Regions from separate parts of the Homo sapiens genome. Here region 1 is linked to region 2. Evidence: promoter capture Hi-C in 16 types of primary human blood cells and fetal thymus (Javierre and others, 2016). All regions are on one chromosome and are shown on one strand. Each heading gives the region's core, a stretch centred on a gene start or on the middle of the fragment in contact. The rest is flanking DNA. Distances are from core to core; before and after follow the strand shown.

Evidence for each region. The method cuts DNA at HindIII sites, captures the fragments that hold promoters and counts their contacts. A CHiCAGO score of 5 or more calls a contact.
Region 1: a contact is called between a fragment that was not itself captured here and the fragment with the promoter of PLSCR5 in region 2, in 1 of 17 cell types (monocytes). The highest score is 7.0, in monocytes.

Annotation. Positions count from the first base shown.
Region 1 is chr3:146,381,128-146,385,744 of GRCh38, reverse strand. No RefSeq gene overlaps it. Among named protein-coding and RNA genes, the nearest start is that of PLSCR2, 86 kb to the left of the region's middle. The HindIII fragment of the contact is 7,777 bases long and covers 1-4,617 here.
Region 2 is chr3:146,602,952-146,607,782 of GRCh38, reverse strand. It overlaps PLSCR5 (phospholipid scramblase family member 5), which reads left to right and starts at 2,437. Exons shown (of 8, transcript NM_001085420.2): 1 at 2,437-2,583. The coding sequence starts at 2,571. The HindIII fragment of the contact is 8,012 bases long and covers 1-4,407 here.

The DNA.
Region 1 (4,617 bases), core at 1,176-3,675, 220 kb after region 2:
CTAAGCCTACCTAGAGTTCATTATTAAGTTCAATTTCATCTCTTCTGTAGTCTTTTGCTATCATCTCAAAGAGCTGGGCCAGTATTATTTTGTTAAGAGTTGTACTTCTGCAGAATTTTAACAAGTGGCAAATATAAAGTTTAAAAATGGAAAATACAAAGTAAAATTAATAGTCATATAACAATCTCCATTTGCATAATGGTTTAGAGCCATGAATCTAGACTTAAAGGCAACTAATTGAGTGAATCAGATTATCTATTATCCTGCCAAGTGAAAAAGGTAGGCATTAAGAGGGGTAAGAGTCTCATTATGACATGGAGTCTTGCTCTGGCATCTGTGGAAAACTGTCTACTGCATGAAAATGTCATCTTCTTGTCCCGGTTTGCAATTTGAGTGTCTCTTGGTTATGGCATCAGGTGGGTTTGGTAAACTTTTTGTGTGGCCAATAGGTACAAGTCTTGCTCCTTAAAATTATTGTAGTTTTAGCATATAAGGCATTAAGAACACAGCAGTTCCCAATTTTAATAACTCCATGAAAGAAAGTTGGATTGGAAGAATGTAAAAGAATCCAGGATCTAGTCTAGTCTATTGGTAGATAGCAAGAACTTGAAAACAATGCACAGGGCTACAGTTTGATAATAGATGTATTGTGGCTTTTCTTTGGAAATATGTTTTTTCCTGTATGTTGATTATAAAGGAATCTCAGAAAACCTCTTGAGACTAGGAAGCCAAACCAAGGCAGACTTTAGATTTTACATACACTCTTTAAGGTTTCTGGGCCTGCCAAGAAGTAACCATTTTTATCTGCTAGGAAGATAAAAAGGCTGTACTGTAAGGAACCCTTGAAACCAGGCATTCTCAAAAGTGGTATTTCAGTCAAAGACTTGGTAATATAAACAATGTTTCCAATTGTATCCTGCTATATAGAGAGAGCAGATTTTTACTGGACTTATGCAAATAACCATATTGTCATGAGAATAATCATGAACACTTTTGAATTTTGGTGGAATCAAAGAAGGAGAAAAAGCAATTCCTTCTATCTTTGTTTTCAGATGTATATTTTACCAAATTTCTGTAAAGTTCAAATAGTTTGAGAGAACAAAAATTTCTTACATTTGGAAAAAAAATTTAATAAAGAGTCAACAATGTTTTAAATGTCATAAAAACATTATCTTCACTAGTTGTCCAATCTCATGTAATTAATTTTTGTTCTGCTTGTTCTTGATTAGAAATTTTATGAACCCATCAGTTTCTTCATTAAAGTTTTGAAAAAAATTTATTTTGCCCATTGATCTTAAATATATTAGAAACCTATATTTAAGAGGACATACAAATACTTGTTAGTCTTTCCTTGAATCTGATTGCACATGCTTTCAGAGAAGAGTTCAAAATAATCACTGTGAGTGACAAAAACTTAGAATAGCCATGGTTAAAAATCTGGTGGAAGTTTATTATAATCAGCATTTGACAAGATAATTTAGTTATTTTTGTGGCATACAATATGGTAGCCACAATTATGATGGATAACATATTAGATTTCTAAGAGTTTTATCCAAATTTGGAATATGCATATTAATAACATACCCATAAGTGTAACTGAAACATCTAGATACTCTTATCAGATTGAATAAATTTAATTATAGTTTTCAGTTGCTGAGATTTTTATTAACCTGATTAATGAGTTTGAAGATTGATTCTATTACTTATAAAACTATATATAGTTATAAAAATTGTTCTGAAACTATAAATTTAGATATATTACATATTATAATATATATAAAACATTTATTAATGTAGAAAAATTATTTCGTTACAATGAAGATGGCCTCAATCACATTGTGTCATTCAAGAGACACTAATTTCATATATAAGTGCAGTATTCCAGGACAAAGAAAATCAAATGAGAAAAGGACAAAAGGCATTTTATGATCCTGCTGTCTGACAAATCAATTTGTAGTTGCCTACCTAATTATCAATGGTTTTTGTCAAATGCTATTGGAGAAAGATTTATGCTAATAGTGTTTCACTTTATCTTATGCTAGGACATTAATAAGTGGATCACTTTCTCTTTAGCTAAAACATTAGCTAAATCACATTGGGAAAATAAAACCCAGAAGCAGAAACTAATTGGAAACATTGCTTTTAGGTAATGAAGCACTTACATATCTGTTTTGAGGATTCATTAGTTTTAGTTTGGGGAAGTTTCTACATAACTCACCTGAAAATATGCATAATTGTCATTGAAATATATACTGCCAAAGTCATTGAATAAAGGGGGAACTTTGGCATTTTATTTCATTTCATTTTAATAAACACTCCATGAAAGTTTGGGCTACATTTCAGGCTCTAAAGATAAAAAAAAAATAGATGATCAAGGCTGTATCCTACTACTTAAGGAGCCTAGTAGGGGAGGAGAAACACAATTAAACCAACAACAACTCTACGAGGTGATAGGGCTATTAAAGACATTTACATAATGTGCTACAGAAACACCACGAGATCAAAATTGTACATTCTTTCTAGATAGGAGATATAGTTTATCGATAGTGTTTTAACACCTCTTTGTCTCTCTTTCCCATAGACTTAGTATTTTGAAGATAGATGCAAGAAGGGCCAAAGTATCCCCTCAGTAAACTAGAGAAAGTTGCAACTGCCCCTGTGGTTTGCTAAGAGGTTTGCATAAACCAAATGAAGAGCATTCTAGGCAGCTACAGAAGGGCTCAGTAGAGTATTTTCCTTTGGAGAACTTTCAGAAAGCATCATTATGGGTAGAGAGCTCTTCAGCAACAAGCAAGCACATTTGGGGTCAATAAGTGCAATTGTCATAGGTAAGAGAAACTGATATCTGAGAGGTAAAGCTGTTTTACCAATAATGAAAAGAAATGGATCAGTCTTATGGTTGTCCAGCGACAATTTTTCTTATTAATTAGAATAGGTTGTATCACATTCATTACAAACACAGAGACTATTTTAAGAGATGTTAAGATATTTTCCAGAAGCAGGACTAGCTACATAATTTGTTGAGCTCAGTGAAAACTAAAATGTGATGTTCCTTCTTCAAATATTATTAAGAATTCAGGATGGAAACAGCAGCACATTAATGCAAGCACAGGGTCCTATGTGACTACCTGGCAATCAGGCCTATGAAGCCAGCAGTGGCCAGAGGGCAGTATCGCTTTGTGTACTGTAGCAAGCTAAATATTTCTAGAATGAGAAACCATAGCTTTGAACTACAGCACATGCAGATCTGAGTTCTAGCTCTATCACATATTACCTACTGTATATTGAACAAGATGTAAAATTTTCTACTTCCTCATTGAAATATGGCCATGCAAATTAAAACTTCCACTTAATCTCCAATATTATATACAAATATACATGTAAATTTTCTTCTGCTGAATATACAAAAAACTGATTTTATTATTTAAAAAAGAATGTATCCAAAGTAGTGGCTTTCAAATATTGCTGCTGATTTTAGAAATATAATTTTATTAAAGTAAAACAATTTGTTCATTTTCAATTATTATTTTAATTTCCTTGGCCATTGATTTCACCACTCACCCCAGTTGTGCACTAAAGATTCACCGTTAAAAAGATTATTTTAAGATTGGATTTTAAAATATTTAAATAGCTGAGTGCAGTGGCTTATGCTTGTAATCCCAGTGACTTAGGAGGTAGCAGGATCCTGCGAGCCCAAGAGTTTGAGATTAGAGTCAGGTATGATTGCACCACTGTACTCCAGCCTGCATGACAGAGTGAGACCTCATCTCTAAAAATAAATGAATGAATAAAATACTTCAATAGAAGTCATCTATTGAAGATTTAGAACATAATATTCATGTGTGTTTTATAATCTCCACACAGAAAATCGTACTCTTCATTTCAGTATTTCATTATTACCTTTTGCTATTCAGAGAGAGACTCAATTAATTTATGTAATGCTTTACTATTTTAACAATATGTTACTTATATTTTGTCCTTTAATTATATGAAGAAAAGGAGTGCTGGAGCAGTCTCTCTGGGTGGCCCAGCAAATTTCTTCACCGTCTCCAAGTGCTAGAGAGCTGGCTTTTTCCAGCACATCGTTAGAAAACTTTCTCCAAACCTTAAAGTATCTATTCCCCTGAGAAACATCATTGCTATACTTACTCAATTAAAAATAGACAGCAGCAGAAGGCAGATGACCTCTGTCAGCACCCAGTCCCATGGTCTAAGCACATCTCTCCAGACTATTGCAAAGCCAGAGACGTGTGTTCCTGCTCACCCTTAGCCTGTGAGTTCCTACCTGCATTGTGTGATGTTTGCTGTTGTGTACCATTAGTAGAGGCAGGAGGCAGAGAAATTCTAGGCAGATAGGGGCAGATGTCCAGTGAAATCCCACATTCAAGCCAAAGTAGCCTGAAACCTGTGGCCCAAAATGAGAATTTCTATTCTTGTTTGCCTATTCTCTCCTGATTAGTATTTTCTGAATAATGTAGTTTTACCAATCGAATGTTGCCTTTTCCAAAACTACCTATGGCCTAACCCATTCCTATCCTTCACCTATAAAGACCCTAGACTTAGTCAGTAAAGGGAGAGAGGCAGCTTGACTTCAGCAAGATGGCTTGACTTTGGAGA
Region 2 (4,831 bases), core at 1,188-3,687:
ATGAACAAAAGGGAGATCTCAGGTTGGCAAACACTTAGCCTTTAAAAAGAAAAAAAACATTGGTATTGTCTTTGGCAAGACAGGGAGAGTGCATAAGGGAAGAAAAATGCATTGAGTATACCTCACCAGTAGCATTACCAGGTTCGATGATCTGAAAAGCCTCCACTGCAGATTAAATATTAAAAGATCCCATCAGTCAGTCATATGCCCATGTCATCATATGCCCAAGTCATATATGGTTGTCTTTGGAGAGTTCACAAATATGTTTAATTCACTAAGATTTTTATTTTTATTCCAAAATTTGTGCTGTGTAGGGCAGTCAAAATTAACTGGTGAATTCTGACCACATTTCAAAACATCTTGTTTGATAGCAGCATGATTTATATTCCTTTAGGTATATACCCAGTAATGGGATGGCTGGGTCAAATGGTATTTCTAGTTCTAGATCCCTGAGGAATTGCCACACTGTCTTCCACAATGGTTGAACTAGTTTACAGTCCCACCAACAGTGTAAAAGTGTTCTTATTTCTCCACATCCTCTCCAGCACCTGTTGTTTCCTGACTTTTTAATGATCACCATTCTAACTGGTGTGAGATGATATCTCATTGTGGTTTCAATTTGCATTTCTCTGATGACCAGTGATGATGAGCATTTTTTCATGTGTCTGTTGGCTGCGTAAATGTCTTCTTTTGAGAAGTGTCTGTTCATATCCTTCACCCACTTTTTGATGGGGTTGCTTGTTTTTTTCTTGTAAATTTGTTTGAGTTCTTTGTAGATTCTGGACATTAGCCCTTTGTCAGATGAGTAGATTGCAAAAATTTTCTCCCATCCTGTAGGTTGCCTGTTCACTCTGATGGTAGTTCCTTTTGCTGAGCAAAGACACATGCACACGTATGTTTATTGCGCACTACTCACAATACAAAGACTTGGAACCAACCCAAATGTCCAACAATGATAGACTGGATTAAGAAAATGTGGCACATATGCACCATGGAATACTATGCAGCCATAAAAAATGATGAGTACATGTCCTTTGTAGGGATATGGATGAAGCTGGAAACCATCATTCTCAGCAAACTATCGCAAGGACCGAAAACCAAACATCGCATGTTCTCACTCACAGGTGGGAATTGAACAGTGAGAACACATGGACACAGGAAGGGGAACATCACACACCGGGGCCTGTTGTGGGGTGGGGGGAGAGGGGAGGGATAGCATTAGGAGATGTACCTAATGTAAATGATGAGTTAATGGGTGCAGCACACCAACATGGCAGATGTATACATATGTAACAAACCTGCACGTTGTGCACATGTACCGTAGAACTTAGAGTATAATAAAAAAAATTTTTTTAATCTTCTTTGATAGTGTTAATAACTTAATTTTTTGTATTAAAGTTTTTCTAAATGCTCACGACAAACATTAGAAAAAACTTAGGAAACATACAGTTTAATTTAAAAATATTAATCATATTCACACATCTTTTCTGCAAAACGACAACTTAAATAATGGTAGCTTTTTTCAACTCCAAACACTAAGAAAACTACAACAACAAAACCACTCCTCTTTGTCAAATAAGGAAAACTCAAACTTTTGGCAGTCTGCAAACTGTGAGGTTGACTTTATAATTTTTCATCACAAGGTATACCTCCTGAAGCCTCTTAACTATTTTCAGAAAAAGACAGTGTTGCTGATAATGCAATATATCCTGCATGTTCAACCTTTGTGAATCATACCATGTAGGGCAATTGACTTGGTGAGCAAAATCTCCATGGTCACCTGGGTAGCTGCATTTAGAAATAGGAGCTGTCCAGTCAAGGTTACAGCACTTGTTTTCTTTCCTTAGAATTCAATGCAGTTAAATATCATCTGTAAATTTTGATTAGCTTTGCAAGGCTATTGAAGGTTTGTATATTCCAATGCCTCTGATTAATCAAATTCAATTAAAAATGAAAATAAAGATTTATTTATATAATAGTAGGGAATATATCCTCTTCTTATTTATTTTGAGTTGAAGAGATGGAGATAAATCCAATAGAAAAATAACAATAATAATGTTCAAACATTTTCAACATGTAAAGAATTGTATTTAGAACTATCAAAAATTTATACAATAGGATGTTTTATCACAGAATCTGGAAAGGAGACTTCTAGAAATTGAGAAATACAGGATATTTCTGATATAAGACTGAATGCAAATGTGTATATTCTAAGAAATACAAAAACAACTTGGTAAAAAAAAAAAAGACACTTAAAATGAGTGCTGTGTGCTTTCCTTTCTGGTTTTTATTATTTTTAAATTGTTCCTTCAGCCACCAAAGTTATATGATGGTTTCTGAACAGCGTTTACTTTTGTGACAGTTTCATCTCACTCTGTTGTCCAAACTGATAAAGTCCAGAAGTCTAGAAACAGCAAGGGACTCCCTTCCTCTGTTATATGTAAGCTGACAAGAGGCAGACAAACACGTTCTGAAGTTTTGTGCATGCTGCGTTTTCTCTCCTTGCTGCAACAAGAAAAGCCTTTGTTTTCCAACCTGGCAACCTTTGAAGAAGTGACTCAGACATCTTCATGGCCTCTAAAGGTAAGAGTAAATATAACCAACTAATAACTTTTTCTTATATTAAGACTAAAAATATACAATTGTGGATGTGTTACAACCAGTTAGATTGGTACTTTAAAAGCTGTCATTTGTCACTTTTGAACATTGTGATTTTAAAATCTTAACTCCCAGGAGCATGTTGAGTTACATGTAAAAACACTTTATCTGACAGACTGTAAAAGTTCAGATGTAAACGATGTTTTAGTTATCATGAATACAAACATAGTGAATTAATAAGAAAAGCTGCATAGCAAAGTTTAGAATGGGAATCTTCAATGTTAAACACAAGGACAGGGTGATATTTTAAGTTTAAAAGGATTTGAAGAAAACTTTTCACACATAAGTTAGAAAGTGTTAAAGTGCAATTTAATAATTTTTTTAATTAAAATATTAAAAATTTATGTGGGTACATAGTAGGTATATATACTTATGGGATACATGAGATGTCTTCATACAAGCAGGCAATGTGAATTAAGGACATAAAGGGGAATGGGATATCCATCCCATCAAGCATTCAGCCTTTGAGTTACAGACAATCCAGTTACACTCTCTAAGTTTTATTTTCCCATTTGTTATTCAAATTATGTGATATAGCCATTTATTATAAAGAATCTGACATGCGTTATTATTGATTCTTAAATGTGATGGGCTAGAAATAAGTATTTCTGAATTATAAAGCAAAAATATCTTGAAATTTCCTTATGGTAAATTAAAGATAGAAAACAAACAGAAAATATCTGCTTTAAGCGCACAGATCACTTAGCAGACTTTTGGGGAGTAGGACTGATGAGTTTTTTCTCAAATTCCTAAAACTGCAAAAATATCATTACGTTATCTTACTTTAAAGAAGGTCTAAAAAGACAAGAGATGTAGTTGTTTTTAAAGTAAGTTGCAATCTCACTAAAAACACTTGTGAAACTGTGTAAGAAATAAAATTATAATGTGCTTTCATTTCATTGTCAGAATGAACCACTAAAGCCTAGGCTATAATGAAAAGTTTTAGCATGAAGAATTATAATTAGTATAATTGGTGAAAACCTTTTAAATTAATTACAAATAGGATAATAGGGCTCATCAATTTGTAATATCCTAAATTAGTGATCCATTCAAACAAATGTGTATGCTTACTTGCTTCCTTTATCAAAACACACTTTTGGTCACTATTTAATATGAAACAAATGAGATAATCTTTCCATTTTTTATCAATCTTTAATGTAGACCAGTCCCTCAGTCCCTCAGAATCACTGAGAAAGCTCACACAAATTGTAAAACATAGATGTGAAATAGCAAAATCATGAATTTAACATATGTGTCATTTTTTTCTATCTGAAGACAAATAAACAAAAAACCTTGACAAATATTTCCTTTCATTTAAGACTGACACTACTATTTAGTCCAAAATACTTCATCACTTTATAAAATAAGAGTTACAGCAATACTGTAGACTGTAAGGTAAAAAGTTGCAGAGTGTATAAAATATTTATAAGCTAGTTATACATTTTTAAAAGAGTAGATAGAAATTCAAAGCCAGTACGAAATTCAAAGGAGTTCCTTCTTCATCTGGTTGTCTGAGTCTTTGAAGAAACTTGTGACTGGAAAGTAATATTATGTCAAAATATGATTAATCTAACAGGAAGCAGTGATGTTCCATAATGATAAAGACCCAAGTCTAAACTTAGAAGCAAAACTTCAGGTGGAAAACTGACCCTCCTTCTGCAACCGGCTCAAAATATTTAATGCATGGAAGGATAAAACACCTATTAGAGACTTCATACTACCTAGGAGAATATAAGTGATAATGAAGCTTTCTTGTGAATTAGATATCTTGTTTAAGAGGGCAAGTCAAATTATCACCATTATCTAAGTAAAACATTTTTGTGGATAGTTTTCTTCAGCTGTATATAAACACATTATTTATAACATCATGTTTTCTTGTCCAGTAACTATATTGGCAATTAGCATTTTCCCAGGGAATGCAGACTAATTGTACATTTCACATATTTCATAGGCAGATCAATCAGCACTACTAAACCAAAAGACAGTCTAAATACCAGGTGCCATTAGAACTGAAGAGACATTTGTGTGAGCTGGAGCATCCTGGCTTAGTAGAAATTAACACAATTTAAGAGCAAGTTGCTCTCAAACACGGTGATCTGAACTGAGCAAGAGCTGTCTCCAAAGGTTGCTTCAATGTGAACTAAAATCCCAGAAGAAGCAGCTAGTGATCTCA